7 separate regions of the Homo sapiens genome follow, and all the other regions are linked to region 5. The links are contacts of gene promoters, found by promoter capture Hi-C in blood cells and fetal thymus (Javierre and others, 2016). All regions are on one chromosome and are shown on one strand. Each heading gives the region's core, a stretch centred on a gene start or on the middle of the fragment in contact. The rest is flanking DNA. Distances are from core to core; before and after follow the strand shown.

Region 1 (2,700 bases), core at 188-2,687, 5.4 Mb after region 5:
TAAGTGCTCATTTAGTCAGTTATATATGTATTATCAGAGCTTAGTCTTCAGCAGACTGCCTCCAGACACTCAGGAACTTCCCACTGGCAACCAGTGTTACCCGGGTCTCACCGATCCCGGGTGAACAGTGGTAATAGGGAGGAAGATGAAGGATAGAACCATTGCACAGCAGCCTTTTGCAATCATCTAGTCCTTTAGGAACAGTTCTGCTGTGCTGTTTAGTCCTCAGGCCACACTGTGAGAACAAGTTACAGAGCACTGTGGTGAGTGCTGAATGAGTCAGGGAGTAGAGATAGGAAGAGAGAGAGAGAAAGGGAGAGGGAGAGAGAGACCTGTAGGTACATAGAAAAGGCAGGAAGCAACATATGTCCTTGACTCATTTGATACTGCACTTTGTTCCACTTCCCAAGGATTCAGTCACTGCAATTTACCTTTAGCATTCCAGGCAGATAGAATCCTGCTCTACATATGAATCTGGGCACAAAGCCATGCAGGTGTGAGTAAGCCCATGAAGGAAGTGGCACTCAAAGACTCTAGGAGTTCAGGCCAGGTGCAGTGGCTCATGCCTATAAGCCCAGCACTTTGGGAGGCCGAGGTGAGTGTATCACCTGAGGGTGAAACCCTGTCTCTATAAAAACACAAAAATTAGCAGAGCATGATGACGGGTGCCTGTAATACCAGCTACTTGGGAGGCTGAGGCAGAAGAATCACTTGAACCCTGGGAGGTGGAGGTTGCAGTGATCTCAGGTCATGCCATTACACTCCAGACTGAGTGACAGAGCGAGACTGTCTCAAAAAAAAAAAAAAAAAAAGACTCCAGGAGTTCTAATATGCCCCATTAGGTGGGCACCAGAATGGCCCCTTGTAACTTTTTCCTACCTTCTCCTCTCCTAATTCTTTTTCTGTGGAGGAAACAATAATTGTCTCTGAATCATCCCTATTCGGAGCATTGAGGATATATTAGAAGGTCTGGGTAAACAAGCAGAAATATTGCAAAAGTGCTAAAACATCAAACTTCAGGGTCGAATTTGTGGTTTGCTTCTGCTTTTTCTATCCACTCTAAAGGTGTTCCTGATAGAGAAGCTTCCTCAGTGTTCCCTGTGTTGGTGTGTAAGACAGAAAGAAGATGGGGTAAAAGAGTGCACGCATCCTCCACTACAAACCAGAGGCTGATAGCATTAGGGAGAAGCTAGGGTTTGGCCTCACACAAGCAGTTTGCACTGTTGTCCAATCCCAGGTGGGGTGGTTGCCTCTTCATTTCCTTTGATAGCAACCGCCTGTTGCGTGATGTAGTGTGGGTGTCCTCAGAGGTAGCTACCTAAGTTTGCATACTTCCTGACTGACAGAACACTCCTGCCAGTGCCTCCAGGCCAGGGTGGTGGTGTTGGTGGGAGGAGTAAGTAACCAAGTTTCACTTCCTTGCCTTGGAGACTCAGAGCCATAGCAGGCTGCTGTCTCACAGAGCGAGAAGGTGTCAGGAGCAGCCCAGTTGTGTCTCTCTCTCTACCTCTGTGAAGGGCGCGAATGGGCAGAGCAGAACTTCTAGAAGGGAAGATGAGCACCCAGGATCCCTCAGATCTGTGGAGCAGATCCGATGGAGAGGCTGAGCTGCTCCAGGACTTGGGGTAAGGCAGCAGATCTCCTTTCAAAGTACCTAGTGGGTGGACATTGACTCCGCACTCCCACCTGCATGCTTTGATTAATGACTATCTTCAGTGCCTTGTTGCCCTCTGCCACCTCAACCATTTATTTTTTTCCACTTTATTCATTTGTATCTGTTAAGTATCTTCTTGTCTGGGGCTAATTCCATTGGAAAAGCAGGCATTATTTTTCTAGATGTGAAAACAAGTTGGTTGAGAAAATAGGGAAAAAAATCAAATGTTGGACATTCTTTGAGAAGAGGGACAGAATTGGGATATAGAGGTGATGTTGCCTGGCTTCCTTGATGTTGCTCTGGTTTATGAATAAATGCGCTGTTCAAGAGTTTCTAGCACTGACCCAGGGACAGTAAAAGGACTGTGTTTCTGGTAAGATAAACAGAAAGCTTACCCTACTGTAAGGGAGAGGGACTTTTTCAAAAGACAGAGAATGAGGAAGTTCCTGCAACAGTCTCGCTTGTATATTTCTTTCTCCTGATACTGCATTTGTGAGATTTGATATCGTATGTATGTCCAGAGAGCCAACTTTGAGCCTTTCAGTACCAACAATCCAGGAAGAGGATAAAATTTCTGCTTCAAACAGGTAAGCATAGGTAGGTGGAGTCATTGGAGCTCTGTCTTTAAGAAGGGACCCAGATGACAACTCATCCGGGTATTTAATAAGAAACAAGTATTACACAAGAGAGGAATTGGGGATTTCCCAGAGAAACTGCCTAATGCACTGGGAATATCCCAATGAAGGTGGCTTTGACACCTGTGCATGAGGAGAGGCAAAACCTTTACCTTCTGCCTGGACAAATAGCTCTAACTCTTCATAGCAATCCAATGACATAGGAGCTGTTGTCATCTTCATCTTACAAAGGATGAAAACAAGTACCAAACAGGTTTGAATAACTTGCTTGCTAGTCACACATCAATTACATAGCAAAGCTGGGCATCCAACCTACCACAGGCTATGTCCGAAACCAAAGAAAAACCAAAATAGAGTTGAAATCTCTCTGTGTTAAGGCTGCAGAGATTGTATCTTTTTATGTTGTATTAC
Region 2 (2,700 bases), core at 20-2,519, 7.5 Mb before region 5:
AACACTTTGTAAGAGATGACTCCTGTCCCATCCTGCTCAGGGATGACCAGAACTTTCATCTTAGATAGATACACCACCAGGTTTCATCAGGGACACCTTAATTATTTTAGCTGTCTAGGTAAACCAATCTCCCGATGGGAGGATATGGAGTAGGGCGAAGAGTTATATTTTGGAAAACAATCCATGGGAAATTAAGTCAAGTAGCCAAAGGTTTAATTTGGAAATGCAAATATCCATCAATTAGGTTTTCAATTATGTGGACAATAAAAGAGTTGAGCAGAGCAGTAGAGACAAACAAAATTAAAAAGAGAAAAGGCAGAGAAGGCAGGGAGGGGCTTATTTTCACACATTATACCAATTTACATTACACATCATATTAAATTTAAGTAAGGCGCTTTTCTTCATCCAAATAATTTCACCCATTTTAAACCATAAAATACTGTCGGCGAAATCTCATCTGGGCCATTTGATGTAATCTTTCTGCGTCCCTTTCAGGAAGGAAGGTGCGACAACACAATGAAGACAGCCTGTTGCTTTCCTTGGTATGTTTACAGCAGGAATCGGGCAGCGACTTAACTAGACATAAGTTTCCCCTTCTTCCCATGGGTCTATTTGCCAAAGCCCCCTGCACCTATTAGAATTTTCTGAGGTTGGGCTGGTGGAGAGCAGAAACCCGGAGGCTAGATTCAGGAGACCTGGTTTCCCATGCCACTTAGTAGCCTGTGACATTGAGCACAATACTTACTTTTCGGCGCTTCCGTTTCATTATTTGGGAAATGGGAACAATATATCTGTTTTATAAGATTGTTGTGAAGATGAAACAGGCCTGTGTGTGAAAGGCCTTTTCTAAATTGTAAAGCGCTCCCCAGATGTTAGTTATTATCTCCTTTAAAGGGCACAGAATCTGTTTCAATATTATAGGAGGTTGCAAAAAGGCTCCTTGACACTTTTTGCTCAGAACTTGACCCTGAGCTTAATCTCGCCGTAAAGTGAAAGGGTTCTTGCGCCCCCACAGCAGCCCGGGGCAGGGTCACCCTCGCGACCGGGGCGGTCATTGCCGTATTCCGTCCTGAGCTGCCGCTCCCCCACGATCCTCCCACCAATCCCGGGAGGGCCGCGACGTCCCTTGCCGCTTGGGTGGCGCCAGCTAGAGGGCGCGGGCCGGGGCGGAACCCGGTACCGCAGCTCGGGAGGTGGGGGTGGGGGCGGGGCCTCGCGCGGAGGGCGTGGCCTCGGGGCGTCCCGGGCAGCCGGCGTGCTGAGCTTGCCAGCCAGCTAGCGAGCGACGGGCGCGCGCGGCCCCTGCGCACTCGGCCGCCGCCTGCGCGCGTTGCGGCCGCAGCTGCACCTTTGCCTCCGCGGTTCCGCAGCCGAGCCCCGGGAGGAGGCGCTCCCCTGCGTCGTCCGCACTTGCGCCCTTTCCCACCGCAACAGGTCAGGGGAGGGCGGAGGTGACGAGGGCGCCCGACCCGGGACTAGAGGACGGAAGGGTCTGGAAGGTGAGCGCAGCCCTGCGCCACCCAGGGCTGGGGGTCGATCCGCCCGGCCCCCGACGCCGCCGCCGCGGACTTCTCGGAAGCCGAGGCTCTCCCCGCCTCTCTGCCGGCTTCCCAGCACGCTGACTCAAGTCGCTGGCGTTCCCACTTTTCCGGTGGGAGCCCTCGGGGAGAACGGGCTAGGGCTCAGAGCTCTCACCGCCCTACTTGCGATCCCGCGGCAGGTAGCGCGTAGAAAAACAGGGGACGGGGACATGGGAAGAGACCCATGCTCCTCCCTCACGCGCAGCCCCCAAGTCAGACGTTTGCCTGTGCACCCCGCGTTTTGCGGAGAGCTGTCCCGTTGTTGGGACCTGCTACTTGAGTTGCGTAATGAGTCCCAGAAGTTTCTCGGGGGGAGGGGGCGGGGAAAAGTGGGGTTCTTCTCTCCTGCACCCCGGGACCCTTCCCTGTGCCTGTCGTGGAGAGAGATGAGGGCTTCCCGCCGCGTCTCGCTGAGAGCAGGAGGGAGGCGTGTGTCGGTGGTCCGTAGCCTCCGGGGAGGAGTTGGAGCCACCTTCTGAGACTTAACTTCAGGGACAGAGGGAGAGGCGTCTTTAGTATGGGACTGGTTAATTTCTCTTGATAATGCTTTTTTCCCTCGGGTGTCCCATCCTCTGTGGCCGTCGCAACCCCACCCTCCGACGGTGCGAGCGCCGGAGCCAGCGAATGAGAGGGGAGAGAAGGTGGAGAGTGTGAATCACACGTTACCTTAGTGTAATGGTAGTTGCATTAATGGAGCTGCGACGGGCCTGCGGGCGGTTCGATACCGTCCGGCTAGTTTTCTCTTCCCGGAGCTTCTCCACCACCAGCACCCGCAAATTGTTATGCAGATCATCCCGGGAAGGCACTTGGCTTTGGAGGTGGAGATGTGTCCGAATCTCCCTTGAACCAGTCTCTGTTAGGGGGAAAGGCCTTGCAGCCAAGTGATTTGTTTTAAGGGTGGAGCCGGAGATAATTTTAAACACCCTCCCCCTTGGTGCACGTTGCGGGGTGTGACTCACCACGGGGAAATCAGACTGATTTAAAACCTTCAGTGCAAACTTGTAAATTAAGGCGAAGACCCAGTGTTCCCTGGGACAGTTGCAAAGTGAGAAGAGCTCAGAAACTGAAGCACAGAAACGTTAGGTAGGAGTCTGAGAGGCGTGGAGAATTTTGCTTGTGC
Region 3 (2,700 bases), core at 195-2,694, 6.9 Mb after region 5:
CCTCCAGCCAGCGACCGCCCCCGCCCCCGCCCCGCGCGGAAGGAAGCGCCGGGCTCCCCCCACGCTCTCCCGCTCTCTCGCGAGTCCTGTGCAGGCCCTTCCAGGGGGAGGGGGAGGGGGAGGGGGGCGCGGAGGGAATTGCTGCAATGGAGCTCCAAGACAACCCTGCCCAAGTGAGGCAGTCGGTGGAAAGCCACGGCCACATAAAAATGCCGTATTAATTTTTAAAAAGCCATCAATCACCCCTCCCTCTGCAGAAGAAAACCATAAACCCGATCCCATGCAAGCCTGTGAGCAGAGCCACCCACTTCCTATTTCTGTCACAGCAGCTACACCCTACCAGCAACCACCCCCCGGGCGCCCCCTCCCACCACCGCCACCCCCGCCGCCACCTCCCCGCGGCTCAGCCATTTGCCAACTGACGCCCCCGTCAATAAAAATGCCCCAAGTGAGGCTGGGTGGGACGCGTGGGGGAAGGGCGCCGCGGGGGCGGGGGGTTCGCGGGGTTCGCGGGTTGCACAATATCCTAGAAGGTCCGCGGCTGGAGCGGACAGAGGAGAACCTGGGGCGGGGGAGGGGAGGAAAGGCGAGGCGAGGCAAGCTGCCCTGGCGCCTGCGGCACACGGTGCACCCAGGCCACCGCGGCGCTCCGCTTACCTTTCACCACCCTGTCGGTCGTCGACAACTTGGGATCAATTGCCTTGGGCTCGGACATCTCCAGCTGCCGGAGGACAGCGACGCGCTGCTCGTCCGTCCGACTGCACACCCCGACCGGACCGGCGGGCCAGACACTCAACGCCGCCGCCGCCGCCGCCGCCGCCGCGCTGCAAACCGCTCGGCTGGAGGTCTAGGCTCTGAGCTGGCTTTAAAGTTGCTGCCTTTTCCGCGCGTCCCTCCTCCGCCGCCGCCGCCTTCACTCCTCCTCCGCCGCTGCCGCCAGCCCCGCCGACTCGCTCCGGGCTGCGCGTGTGTGGTGGTTATTTATTTATTTTCTGAGCACGCCTCCCGGTTCTTCTTTTATTCTTGGGGGAAGGGGGATGGGGAGGAGAAGCGCACACACGAGCACCCACCCCGGCACGGAGACCCAGCACCGCGGAATGGAGCCCCACGCGCGCACACACGGCCAGGATTAAGACCGATCACATGGGGAAGGCCGGGGGCGAGGGAGGAGAGGCAGGGCCGCCGATGTCAGTGCCACCAGCCGCACCTTGGCGTCCCCGGCGGCGGAGAGGCGGCCGCCGCTGCTGCCGCTGCTGCTGCCGCTGCCGCTGTTGCTGCTGCCGCTGCCCCTGCTTCTCCACACAGAGCGCCGCCGCTGGTGCCGCGGCCGCCGGAGACGTCCCGCCGCCGCGATCGCCCGCGCTCGCCTCTGCCTCCCCGCGCCGCTCCTCCACTCACCAAGGCACAGCCGCCGAGCTCGGCAGACACAGTCCCGGGCACAACCTACCCCCCTCCGCCGCCGCCGCCGCCGCCAACACCGCGCCCGCCTCCGCCTCCTCCCCTTCCTCCTCCCGGCCCCCGCCTCTTGCGCGCCTGCAGCCTCCTCCTCCCCACTGAGCCCGCCCCCGACCTCCCGCCCCGACGCCGGAGTTCCTCGCGTTCATTGGCTAGAGGGCGCATCACTCAGTGCCAGGTGGCGGCCTCCCCGCTTGTCCCGCCTCCCGCTCCTCCTCATTGTCCCCGCCCCTTGCTCTGTTTTCTTCCAGCTGCCGGACCAGCGGGCCTGCCGCCTCTACGGACCAGTCCCTGCTCAGGTGTCACTTTTGCTGGCAGGCCGAGATTAGGGCAGGAGAGTGGGCAAGGCGTCGCGGCCAGGAGGAGAAGGGCTCTACCACGCCACCCTCCTTTGGCCTCCGAACGCGGACCCCGCACACACACACCCGCGCCTCTTTGGCAAGCGTGCCTTGTCGGCTGGGTTAAGCCGCAGTGTGAGTAGCCAAGTGCAGAGGGTGTCTCCGGGTGTGTGCGTGGCCCACAAGAGGGCAAGAAGAGAGAAGGCGGGGATAGGAGGGAAGAGGGTGGGGGTGAGAGGCAGCCCTGAGAGGGCGGAGGAAGGAAGAGGCTGGGAGCTCGGCGCCCGCGGCGCAGCTGCCGTCGCTGCCGCAGCTGTCCAGGGAGGATCGCCAAAACGGCGACGAATAAACAACTTACCTTGCGGAGAAGAGCTACGACTGCGATGCGGTGTACGGTTGTTTTTGCTTTTGCGTTGGCGGCTTAGGGGCTGTTACTGTGTCCCACCCAGGCGTGCACACCGAGCGGCGGGGCGCTGTGGAACGCGGGAGCGGACTAGCGGAGGAGGATGCGGACCAAGCCCCAGCGACCCAGGGCAACTCGGAGCTACCTCGGGCAGCCCTGCGGGTCTCCGAGGAGAACCGAGGAGACGGGAGAAACATGGGAGAGGGTGGCCTTTTCCCTGTTCACACACACATGCACGCAGCCACTGGCCGGGACAGTTGACACCCATCTTCCTTCCCTGCTCCTTCCAGTCATTCTACACCCGCTTGGTGCTGCCAGTGCGGGCAGGGCCTTGGAGCCCAAAGCGGATCCCCACACTTGTCCCTACGGTCGGAAGGAAAGTAGAGGAGAGAAAGTCAGGCGCGGCAGGGCTAAGAGCAATAGTGGCCCAAATGTTCCTGGCCCGCCTGCTGCGCCACAGAGTCTGAAAAGCGGGTCTCCGTCTACCAGAAGGTGACCTCCACA
Region 4 (2,700 bases), core at 127-2,626, 5.5 Mb after region 5:
CCTTTGTTTTATTATTTTTAAAGAAAGCACATTAAAATATTTAAGGTTAATATAAAATGATTTCTGAAATTTGCTTTAAAATGCTCCAAAAATTTTTTTAATGCAGGAGGCATAAACAATATGGCAAAATATTTATAATTATTGAAATTAAGTACTTATTTGAAATTTTCAGTAGAGTTCAAAAAGAAAAAATTGGTAATGAAATTGCTGCAGATGCTGTCTCTGTGTAGGAAGAAAAAAATGGTAAACTTTGCTTTGTGGTCATCAGTTTGCCGTTGTTTGGGACCTTTTCATATCATAGTTTTTACCCTTAAATTAAAAAAAAAAAAAACCAACCCCAATATCCTGTTTAAACAAACCAAGCTTCGCTTCTTAGCCACTCTGGTTTCACCACATAAACGATACTTTATTGTTTGAAGTTGTGCTGAGCTGTCTTTAACAGCTAAGTTTATCTACATATATAAATATTCTGACTGTAAATTTTGTTTTGTTGGGCTATACTAAAATAACATGCAGAGAACTTGAACATGAAACACAAACGGTAAGAGGCAAAGATGCAGCAGTGGAAAAAAAGAGGAAAATTGAATTCAGAACAAACTGGATTTGACATTTATGCTTCCCAGCTAAGAGACGTTGGTCTAATCAACCTATGTGAGCATTCCACTTCTCTTGGGCAGAATGGGACTATTGTGAAGACTGCATGAGCTAAGTCATGTGCTTTTTTAACTGTAATGCATCATACCAAGATAAAATATTATTAGCATGAAGAATGAATGCTGGCAATATTTCATGACTATTTTCATTTTACAAAAGTGAAAAATTATTTACACTGATTTTTAAAAAGAATTAAAAATAATTTACAAAATTTATCCTAATAAACAGCAATAAGAAACACATTTGGTCTGCCTTTACATATTTCCATCGGTAGGAGAATCAGATCTGCTCAACAAGGATAGAGTTCCACTTTGGTTTTTGACTTTGTTCCTGCTAAGGATCATTTTACTACAGTGATATTAGGTCTTACTTAGAAAAACTATTATTCTGTCTCTTCAGGTGTAGTTAACTACACTGAAAATTTCCATTAAAAAGATACCAGAGTAAAGAAATAATTTTATAATGCAGAAAATCACCCCAGTTTTACTGTTTTATACCCTATCTTTAATATATCAAGTTTGTTTGTTTTAATTTCAGCACCTAATACAATTTCGCCTCTTCAAAAACTTACAGATAAATTGAGAACTATACTCAGAAGCCACAGGCAACATTAACTGTGACTTAGATGGTTCTGAGTAATTTATAATTCAATTTGCAGCCAATATTCAGTGTTGTTATGCACTTGAACTCAGCTTTTCTGGAAATTGTTTAAGGCACGTAAACATCCTGCGTTAATGAAAAGTTGTTCTTACAACATAATTGTGAGTCATGAAGAGAGAACTGAAGAAAACATAACCTTTTTTCCTTATCCTTTCTTTAGAAAAAGAGGCCAAATGAAAGAATATGAATATCTCTTTAAAGTAATTAATGGCTTAAGGGCTACAAAGTACTTTGAAAACAAAAGCAAAAATTTCTCCTAATAAACAGCAACAAGAAACACATTTGGTCTGGCTGTAGTATTTCTGTCAGTGGGAGAATTAGACACACAAGGATAGAGTTCCACATTGTTTTTCATTGTTGTTGTTGTTTGTTTGTTTGTTTTGAGACAGAGTTTCGATCTTCTTGTCCAGGCTGGAGTGCAGTGGCGCGATCTCGGCTCACTGCAACCTCTACCTCTCAGGTTCAAGCTATTCTCCTGCCTCAGCCTCCCAAGGAGCTGGGAATACAGGCATGCACCATCATGCTCGGCTAATATTGTATTTTTAGTAGAGATGGGGCTCTTACCATGTTGGTCAGGCTGGTCTCGAACTCCTGACCTCAAGTAATCCACCTGCCTCAGCATCCCAAAGTGTCGGGATTACAGGTGTTAGCCACTGTGCCTGGCCCACATTGGTTTTTTACTTTGTGCCTGCTAAGGATCATTTCACTACGGTGATGTTAGGTCTTATTTAGATAAAATGTTATTCTGTCTTTTCAGGTGAATGGTAGAGAAAATAGATTATATTCCTGTGGGCACTGCTAGTACTTTCAATACTTTTATAATGGGCTCATCTGTATCTCTTTACTCTCATTTTTTCATTTTTTAATGGTCTCAATCTAGATGATTCTTTTCCCATTTAAAAAGCCATTATTTATTAATTGATTGATTCTTGAAAAGGCTAAACTTGTCAATGTTTCAACATTTAAAAGGCTAAAAAAAGTGGTATAGAGTGAAAATTCTCTCTCCCACTCCTATCCTTCAGTTGCTCAGCAATGTGTTTTCTCCATAGTTTCCCTGATCACCTGCTTTTGTTTACAAAGCTTTTGTTGCTTCCTCTATCTGAAATGTGCTTCAGATAGCTGTCAATTTTTGCACTTTACTTCTTCAAAATATGGCTCAATACTCTCCTTTAGTGAACATTCCCTGAGCCACCATCTCCAAAATTGATCTCTTATTCCCCTTGATTCTGCATCATTGAATATGGTTTGTACCCTGCTTTCTTTAATATACTTTAAATTGCTAATGCTCCTAAATTACTTTCATATTTTCTGGAATGATTTTAGATTTTTGAATAGCCTACAGATTTACAGTGCCTTGAAAGCAAGAAATGACTTTTATTTTATTTT
Region 5 (2,700 bases), core at 159-2,658:
CATACCAAGTCGTCGAAATCCAGTGTGCATTTTACACTTCCAACGCATTTCAATTTGGGCATTATATTTTCAACTTTAGTCCTTAAATGTAGTGCTTAAAAGAAATGTTAACGACCTGGCGCGGTGGCTCATGCCCGTAATCCCAGCACTTTGCGGGGCCGAGGCGGGTTGGTCACCTGAGGTCAGGAGTTCGAGATCAGGCTGGCCAACATGGTGAAACCCCATCTCTACTAAAAATACAAAAAATTAGCCGGGCGTGGTGGCGCACGCCTGTAATCCCAGCTACTCAGGAGGCTGAGGCAGGGGAATCGCTTGAACCCGGGAGGTGGAGGTTGCAGTGAGCCGAGATTGCACCACTGATCCCAGCCTGGGAGACAGAGCAAGAATCCGTCTCAAAGAAAAAAAAAGTAAAGAAATGTTATCCTGCTTCAGTTTTAAATGTTAAATTATTTAAAATTACGTAAAACAAAAAATTCATGGTCTCAGTTACAGTAGCCACATTTCAACTGTTCGATAGCCACATGTGGCCAGTGGCTACCGTTAGGGAAAGAGCAGCTTTGGATCTTCGCCTTTGGAATTTTGCTTGCACTTCTGGGGGCCGGGGAGCTCACGGACCTCATGAAGTTCATCCTTGCTTTATATGCTCCTTGGTTAAGAATTGTCCTTTTCACGTTTTATAAGCCAATTCACAGTGTAACAGTCTAGTTACTTTCCGTATGTTCAGTGAACATTATTCACGTTTTCTTATGAATAAATTCCTCGGGCGTATCAAGCAACCCTATAGAAGGCTGGAAAGTGGACTATTGATTTGGATTTAGAAAAATAAACTGAAGATACAGTGGTTGAATCACTTTTGGCCGCTTTTATGTATCACTGTCTTCTGGTGTGATGGACAGGGTTAACTTCTGTTAGGGTTACTGGTTTTCACCTTCCTGACAGGTAAACTTCTGGGTCTGCACTTTTCAGAGCATGTAAAGCTCTTTCAAAAAAAAAAACGCAGGCAGTAACCGCTGAACTTGCATAGATAGAGATTTATCCAAAGTACCCTTCTATTTTTAGGCAGAGCAACTGCTTGCCAATTTAAATTTCTGGAGAGAAAAATGCACCCACTACAAAACGGACGAGCGGAGGGTTAGACCTTTGCCAGGTAGCGCTCAAAATCCGCTAAGACTACTCCCACCGAAACTCGGTAGCGCAGTTGTCTTTCCGCAGCTGCTTCAGCCAGCCCCAGCAAGCCCGAGCGCCCGGCGCCGCCGCCACCTTCCCCGCCCCTGCGCGGCGCGGCTGGGACTGGCCCAGAGGCGTGGCCGGGAGCGGAGGGGCGTGTCCTGGGTCGGGGGTGGGGCGAGGGAGAGCCAGGAGGCGGAAGTTCCCGCGGGCGGTGGGGACGGCGCCCTCACCGCGAGTCACTTGTCAGCCCTTGTCTGAGGCGGAGGCAGCCCCGCGCCGCGCCGGACCCGAGGTGAGTGGCGGCCGGCCGGCGATGCGCCTCTCGGATCTCCGGTGGGAGAAGGGAAAGAACCGGCCGCTGTGCGCCGAACGCGAGAAGGGAAGCCCGGTTGGGGACGAGGAGGGGGCGCTCCTCGGGCAGGGATGGCTCCTCAGGTGCTTTCTGGGCGCGGAGCGGCGGAGGTGGGAGAGCAGCTTGGGAAAAGGAGCGCCCGGAAAAGGGCAGCGCTGGAGTCCGCATGAGGCCAGAGGGCGAGCCCTGGGGTCCCCGCAGCCCGGGCCGACCGGGACCAGCGTAGCGGAGACGGGGACGCGGGAGGGCGCCCGGAGGTGGCGAGGGCCGGCAGGGACGGGCACTGCCGCTCCCACCCACCCGGCTGCCGGCGTCGCCCGGCACCACCGTGGTGTGGTGTCTGAGTGCCCAGTCCTGCGCCAGTCTCTTGGAGGGTAGGAAGCGGGACTCAAAGGAAAAGGCGCGTTAGTTTTTCTTTGCTCCCAGGCTACTGAGAAGCATTTATTTCTCCCCCAGATATTTACAGTTTTGTGTAACCTGTTTGGGGAAAACTTCTGCGCGTCCAGAAATAAAGCTCGTTTAAGAAACACATTTGTCATGAACACGAGATTTGTTAACACTTGAGTACTTGTTGGGGCTTTTGTAAGACTGTGCCTTCGGTGCGTTTTACAATAAGTGGAAAAAGGAAGGGCGTGTGGACAGGGCAGAGCTTGGAAGGAAAATTCGTGGCGGCGCTGGGCAGGGCAGATTTAGGGTGTGATCGCCAGATCCTATCCCAAGTCCGCCTTCCTGACGGGGAGGACGTCTGAACCCGCCTGCCACGGAAACGGCCCGTTCGGTAGCCTTATTTGGCCAACAAGGCTAGGCGCGAATCCCTCCTGGAAAACTGTCCTGTCGGCTGCTTTCATCCTGTGCCTGTGGCTTTAGTTCTTCAGCTCTACCTACATTCTCTCTCCATTGCGGGGAAAGAGAATCTCAAGATATTTCTCTTTAATTTCAGGCCTTTTTTTTTGTCACTCTGTGTAGTTCATCTTGAGTTCTCCTTTCTCCCCTCTCACCCACTAATGAAGCTGAGATACAAGTGTGGGAAATACCAAGCTTCCTTCCCTAGTACTAGAGCAAAGACATTGTTTAGACTTTCCCTAAAAGAAAATCCATAACTCTACAGAAATTCCAACCTTTTCGACGTGTTTGAAAGAGTATGCTGCTATTTCCTGCCTGCTTGGTATTTGAGGAAG
Region 6 (2,700 bases), core at 54-2,553, 5.4 Mb after region 5:
CCCAGGGTTTGAGGCTGCATCGAGTGGTGATCGCCCCACTGAACTCCAGCTTGTGTGACAGAGCGAGACCCTCAAAAGAAAAGCTTCTTTAGAAATCGCATCCTCTTTCAGCTACCACACTGTTTTTCCTCTACTCCCTTTCATAGCCAAATTTTCAGAAAACTTTAGCCTGGTTTTCAATTGCTGCTTCCATATGTCACAAATCTAATCAGAGTTCTGTTGATTCTACCTCCTATCTTTGAAAACTATTCACCTATCTATATTCCTACCCTACTCCAAGCCATGATCATCTCTCTTTTGACAACAACCTCCTATTCTTCTTACATTCTCTTTTGCCCTCCAGTCTCCACACAGCAACAAAAATGATGTTCTAAAGACCCAAATCACATCATTTAACTCCTTCCTTGAAAATCAAGTTTATTGACTTAGGATAAAGTTCAATATCAGCATCATGGTTTATATATCATTCTTATGGGGATCTGGCCCCTATCTTAATTCTCTCACCTACCCTGGATTCCTTATGCTATGATCATACAAGTTTGTTTTCACTTCCATAAAGATTTTTATCACTTTACCAACTTAGCACGTTCTGCCTGAGATATTTCTCTAGCATACCTTAATCCTACTAATCTCATCTTTTGCATTTTGGCTTAAACTCACTCTCAGAGAAGCCTTCCCTGACCCTCACTGAATAGTTTAGGTCTTCTAGATAAATGCTTTCATTGTACCCTGTAATTTTCTTTGTAGAATTTATCATAATTATAATTATTTACTTGATATTTATTTTCTTTGCTAGATGTAAACTCTTTAAGGTTTTTGTCTTTCTTATTCAGTGATTAATTCCCAGCACCCAGCTCACTGCCTGGGATATAGCAAGCATTGACATACTTGTTGAATAGTTGAATGAATGAAAGAGTGGCCATATTGAGTATAAAACATGATAAAAACAAACATTTTACAGTGAGAACAGACCTTTTTATTAATATATTGAGATAAACTACAGAGACTGAAAGACAAAAATTCATATTTCATTCAGAACATTCATTAAAAATCAAATGCATTTGAGTTCTCACAGAAAATTTTATGTAAGTCTGATATAACATTAAATATTTTACAAATCAGACATTTCATTTTGAAATCTAATTTTTAATCCTGAATGCATTATAGACAAAGTAAGCTCTCCTTTACCAATTTCATTTAACTTATACAAGGCTTCCATTATAATTCCATCAAACCTTAAAAATTACCTGCAGCTTTTAAAAACACATAAAGTAAATGGAAAGAAAGTCTTATGTAGCAATCCAAAAACTAAAACTAGAAATTGGCAAGAAGCATTTCTTAATACAGATAAACTGCAAAATATCATTTATGTGTGTTTCTTCTCATTGGTTTAATCATCCTATTAAAAATAATTTTTTGAAAGTAATAATTACAATACTCCAATGTCACTGAAAATCTCTATGATTTTAATGGTGTCCTTAAATGGCAAAGTAGAATATCAGACTGAAATGTACAGAGTGTTGTGCTGAAGTGAATGAGACTTGCCATGCCAGGTGTCATCTGCTATGCAGTTACAAGACATCTTGGCAACTAGTCATCCCAGTTTTTACTAACTTACTAAACAAGGACATTTCAAGAAATACTTCTTACCCCTATGTATTTCCAGATGGCTGGATATAGAAAGATATAATTATGTTTGAAGCATGGGCCTTATAATAGGAATCTCTCCATTAAAATATGAAAAAGAGCAACAAATAATTCACACCAATGAAATTGTGTTGACTGATTTTCAAAGTCAGACATAAAAATATCCACTGCTAATGGAAGCCCTGCTCTGTGCAAACATAGTGTGGTATATATTAAACAATCACACATTTGAGGTAATTAGCTGGGAAAAAAAAAAAAAAATATATATATATATATATACACCTATACATAGACACATCCACAGAATATTCACAAATCTATTGGCCCCAACACCAGCAGATAGTCATATTAAATGAAAAATATCACATACCAACAGGAAAAAGTTACACATAGGGAATATACAAAAAATATGGTGCTATAATCCTTAATATAAGGAGTATGTTTTGAATTAATGTTTTGAGGAAAAGTGTTTCCATTTATATGAAAGTATCTATTTAATAGTAATAAAACCAAAAAGGAAGCTGAATTCTAGGACTGTTTTACCTGCCAAATAATTGAAGGGATGAGCAAGAATTCCTTGAAAAGCCTCATTCTATCCTTTTTCTTTGTAACTAAAAATTAGAATTTAAAATGTTGGAAATTATTGCCAGACAAGTTTCTTTTCATTGGTTTATAGGGAATTTTATGGATTTTAACTAGGCAATGGTCCAATGTGGTCAACAGACATGGTTTTTCAGCTGTTGAATGAAAATTAAAATAAAGATTTATTGTTGATTTTCATTAGTTTTTCTGTTCAGATAAGAAAAAAGATTATGAATTCCCTTTCAGTTTGCTTCACTCATTATGAAGATGGATAGTAATAGGATAGTACTGAACCCAAGCTTCACATGGGGAAGCTCAAGAAATGTACAAATTCTCTTCTTAACCATTTGGTCCTCTGATATAAAACTTGCTTAACTGGCAAGATGGCTCACTTGGTCCTCAAGCCAACATCAAGAAATATTTAGCTGTCTTAACACAGGTGGGAGACTTTTTTTTAATGAAATACATAGG
Region 7 (2,700 bases), core at 110-2,609, 5.5 Mb after region 5:
GTCCTCATGGGTATAGTGTTAGAAGGCAATGTAATGGAAAGGATAGAGAGAAAAGCAAAGAGCACAGGGCTTCAACGACGTAGAGAAAAAAATTTAAGAGACAACAAAACAAGTGGCCCCATATTTTCATTAATAATTTTCTACAATTAATTGAATCTATCGATAACTTTCTTCTTAACCTGGAAATACTAATGGCAAGGCAACAGTGTAGCGGTTAAAGGCCTTTTCGAGTCTGAAAGTTCAGCTACTATTCTGACTTTGCTACTAATTGTTGTGTGACCTTGGGTAAGATACTTTCATTCATTCGCTAATTCATTCATTAATTATCAGAAAGTCTGTTTCCACGTGGGTAAACCTGGTCAAATGAATCCTGCACCTCTACACAGAATTGTTCTGAGGAATAAATGAAATAATCCATGCAAAATGTTGGGCACAACTATTGGCACTTTGTGCTCAATAAATGTTGGCTATTATTACTCCGAAGCCTATCGAGTAGGAAAATAAATAAGCTGACTTCAACTAAAGGAAACCCAGTACCATATTCCTCAGAGATTTGGTTCGTCGATAATCATGGTGTTATCAAATCAGATACTCTTCAGCAATCATTACTGACTCTTGACCATTCTTGCCGAAAGTGTGCTCTTCTCTTTTAAAGGAACTCTCTCCCAGGGAAAAGCAATGTCATCTCAGGTATTCGATGTTTGCTTTGGGAACAGTTTTCTACAGATCTCAGAAACATGGAATCTGAGATTAGCCACTAGAGTACACCATTCCTCTCACTTCGATAGGGGCCTAGGCCTTATGTAGGACTGAGAATGGGGAGGGAGGGGGCCACATAAACAACACAGATACAAATAAAGCCTCACTGTGGTAAGACGGGACCAGACAAGTCTCCTCCAGGGAGAATGAAACCCGGACATTTAGGACAGCGGAACGCGGAGCCGGCGGGCAGGCGGGTGCAGAGGAACCTCGCGCAGCATTCCCCGAGCCCCAGCCCGGAGCCGGGGCTGGGGCCAGGGCGGGGGTGTGTCGGGATGCTCCCCACCGGGCCTGGGGCTGGGGCTGGCTCAGACAGGCCGGGGGCCCCGCAGGCCTCCAGGAGGGGCCGAGGTGGGGGCAGGGGCGGGCTACGCGGTGGTCTGGGGATTGGGCAGGAAGAGAAGGGACGCTGAGGTCTCACCGCGGGCCGAGGGCAGTGGGTAGAGCTTCTCGGCCTTCTGCAGGAAGCGCTGGGCCTTCTCGCGGTTGCCGGCGTTCAGGGCCTCCCGGGCGATCTCGACACATTTCTCAGCCTCATCCCTGTTCCCCTCCATAGCTTGCTCCTTCTTCCGTTTCCTCCGGCAGCGCAGCTAAGAAGGGCGGAAGCCGCCGCCGCGGAGGAGGCGAGGCGGGACCGGCTGGGGGCGTGCGGCGGCAGCGGGGAGGAGCGCAGGGGACCGCGGCAGCGGCTGCGACGGCCCGGGCGGACGGGCGGGCCTCGCAGCTCCGCCTCCTCACGGCGGCCTCCCCGCCCCCCGCGGGCCCCTAGGGCGCGATCCGCATCCGTCCCGGCCCAGGACCAACCTCCTGGGCCGGGGCGTCCGAGCTGACTCGGTGGTCCGCGCACGGCGCCAGCAGGCTCGAAGCGGACCTGCCCGGGAGGCGGACGATAGCAGCCGGGCTGCCCATCGCGGGGAGGGGTTCCGCCCGGGACCCGATTGCCGGCATTGGTAGCGCCGTGCCCTGTGACCTCCAGGCGAGGCCCTCGCAGCTCAGGCCAGGAGGACAGGGTCCGGGAAGGGGACACTCGTTTTCAGTAAAATTGCCAGGACTTGGAGGTTCCGCCTCTGGGCCCCTCAAGCGAGGGAGGATGCGGTCAGGTGAGGACCAAGGTGTCAGTCCAGTCTCAGCACTTCCGGGACACGTTAGAGCGTCGTTTGAACCTAATCTTAGGGCTTGTATGGCAGCCTTATTTCAGCTACATTTTTTCTGACCCGGATGTCTGGCTATCCAAAGTACAAAGCAGTTTAATTTGTAGCTTGCAACGAGTGGTGCAGATCGACCTTAATCCTGTGTAGCCAAAACAAGGCAGGAATCAGCCCCTCAGGGGCTGCCCTAACGAAAGCAAACTTTTGATTTCACCTTTTCCGTCCCATTTGGATAACATTACCACTTGGAAGTACCGTGTCTTGTTAGTCTTCGCGGTGGGGGTGGGGGGAATGTTTGCTATGTGCAAATTTTTTAAAAAAAAACATGACAAACTGTCAAAATGACCTGCTCAACCCAACCACAAGGTAACAATTTTTACATAATGCTGTGAGCCAAGCTGTTAATTCTGCTAACTACCATAACTCGGTACTTTCAAATAAGAAACCCTGCTTCTCTTCGATAAAATGGAGATAGTATATCCCCAATGATGTTACTGAGTACTTAACAACTTCAGACTTCAAAGCAGGGCCTGGCACGTAGCACTATTATCTTTAAAGTTTAAATTCGGAGTTCATTCTGTGGATATACAGGACATTCCTACCTATTCTCTCCCTCCCCAAGTCCACCATGCTAACAGCATACTAGTGCAGTGCTGTCACACAGCAAGCGAAGCCAATGTACAAACTGAAATGGTCACACTTAGCCTAAGAAACTGACAATCCCACTCCAGCTCCTGCCAACTTTTTAAATTAAAACTTTAGTAGCTCATATAACATTAAAAAAATATACTTG

Evidence for each region. Contacts are between HindIII fragments. The CHiCAGO score rates a contact against its expected background, and 5 or more counts as called.
Region 1: the fragment with the promoter of DAPP1 here is called in contact with the fragment with the promoter of PDLIM5 in region 5 in 8 of 17 cell types (activated CD4 T cells, non-activated CD4 T cells, total CD4 T cells and 5 more); the score reaches 12.5 in activated CD4 T cells.
Region 2: a contact is called between the fragment with the promoter of AFF1 here and the fragment with the promoter of PDLIM5 in region 5, in 1 of 17 cell types (neutrophils). The highest score is 5.3, in neutrophils.
Region 3: a contact is called between the fragment with the promoter of PPP3CA here and the fragment with the promoter of PDLIM5 in region 5, in 1 of 17 cell types (non-activated CD4 T cells). The highest score is 11.8, in non-activated CD4 T cells.
Region 4: a fragment that was not itself captured here is called in contact with the fragment with the promoter of PDLIM5 in region 5 in 1 of 17 cell types (non-activated CD4 T cells); the score reaches 7.0 in non-activated CD4 T cells.
Region 6: a contact is called between a fragment that was not itself captured here and the fragment with the promoter of PDLIM5 in region 5, in 1 of 17 cell types (total CD4 T cells). The highest score is 5.9, in total CD4 T cells.
Region 7: a contact is called between the fragment with the promoter of DNAJB14 here and the fragment with the promoter of PDLIM5 in region 5, in 8 of 17 cell types (non-activated CD4 T cells, activated CD4 T cells, fetal thymus and 5 more). The highest score is 18.3, in non-activated CD4 T cells.

What each region holds. Positions count from the first base shown.
Region 1 is chr4:99,815,390-99,818,089 of GRCh38, forward strand. It overlaps DAPP1 (dual adaptor of phosphotyrosine and 3-phosphoinositides 1), which reads left to right and starts at 1,438. Exons shown (of 9, transcript NM_014395.3): 1 at 1,438-1,625. The coding sequence starts at 1,525. The HindIII fragment of the contact is 961 bases long and covers 1,082-2,042 here.
Region 2 is chr4:86,933,742-86,936,441 of GRCh38, forward strand. It overlaps AFF1 (ALF transcription elongation factor 1), which reads left to right and starts at 1,270. Exons shown (of 21, transcript NM_001166693.3): 1 at 1,270-1,499. It overlaps AFF1-AS1 (AFF1 antisense RNA 1), which reads right to left and starts at 1,109. Exons shown (of 3, transcript NR_038841.1): 1 at 746-1,109. It also overlaps a transcript of C4orf36 not described here. RefSeq lists silencers at 975-1,724, 2,195-2,333 and enhancers at 1,646-2,187, 2,188-2,700, 2,585-2,700. The HindIII fragment of the contact is 7,488 bases long and covers 1-2,700 here.
Region 3 is chr4:101,346,082-101,348,781 of GRCh38, forward strand. PPP3CA (protein phosphatase 3 catalytic subunit alpha) reads right to left here and starts at 1,445. Exons shown (of 14, transcript NM_000944.5): 1 at 658-1,445. The coding sequence starts at 715. It overlaps PPP3CA-DT (PPP3CA divergent transcript), which reads left to right and starts at 1,696. Exons shown (of 2, transcript NR_033874.1): 1 at 1,696-1,928; 2 at 2,243-2,700. RefSeq lists silencers at 1-220, 241-600, 1,071-1,680. The HindIII fragment of the contact is 5,765 bases long and covers 1-2,700 here.
Region 4 is chr4:99,965,511-99,968,210 of GRCh38, forward strand. The region is part of intron 1 of H2AZ1-DT (H2AZ1 divergent transcript); the gene reads left to right. Among named protein-coding and RNA genes, the nearest start is that of H2AZ1-DT, 16 kb to the left of the region's middle. The HindIII fragment of the contact is 2,031 bases long and covers 362-2,392 here.
Region 5 is chr4:94,450,534-94,453,233 of GRCh38, forward strand. PDLIM5 (PDZ and LIM domain 5) reads left to right here and starts at 1,409. Exons shown (of 13, transcript NM_006457.5): 1 at 1,409-1,462. RefSeq lists silencers at 1,059-1,478, 1,649-1,908. The HindIII fragment of the contact is 3,776 bases long and covers 1-2,558 here.
Region 6 is chr4:99,895,295-99,897,994 of GRCh38, forward strand. DNAJB14 (DnaJ heat shock protein family (Hsp40) member B14) reads right to left here. Exons shown (of 8, transcript NM_001031723.4): 8 at 954-2,700. Among named protein-coding and RNA genes, the nearest start is that of LAMTOR3, 2.2 kb to the left of the region's middle. The HindIII fragment of the contact is 2,445 bases long and covers 82-2,526 here.
Region 7 is chr4:99,945,259-99,947,958 of GRCh38, forward strand. It overlaps DNAJB14 (DnaJ heat shock protein family (Hsp40) member B14), which reads right to left and starts at 1,360. Exons shown (of 8, transcript NM_001031723.4): 1 at 1,181-1,360. The coding sequence starts at 1,313. RefSeq lists an enhancer at 744-793 and a silencer at 964-1,623. The HindIII fragment of the contact is 11,087 bases long and covers 1-2,700 here.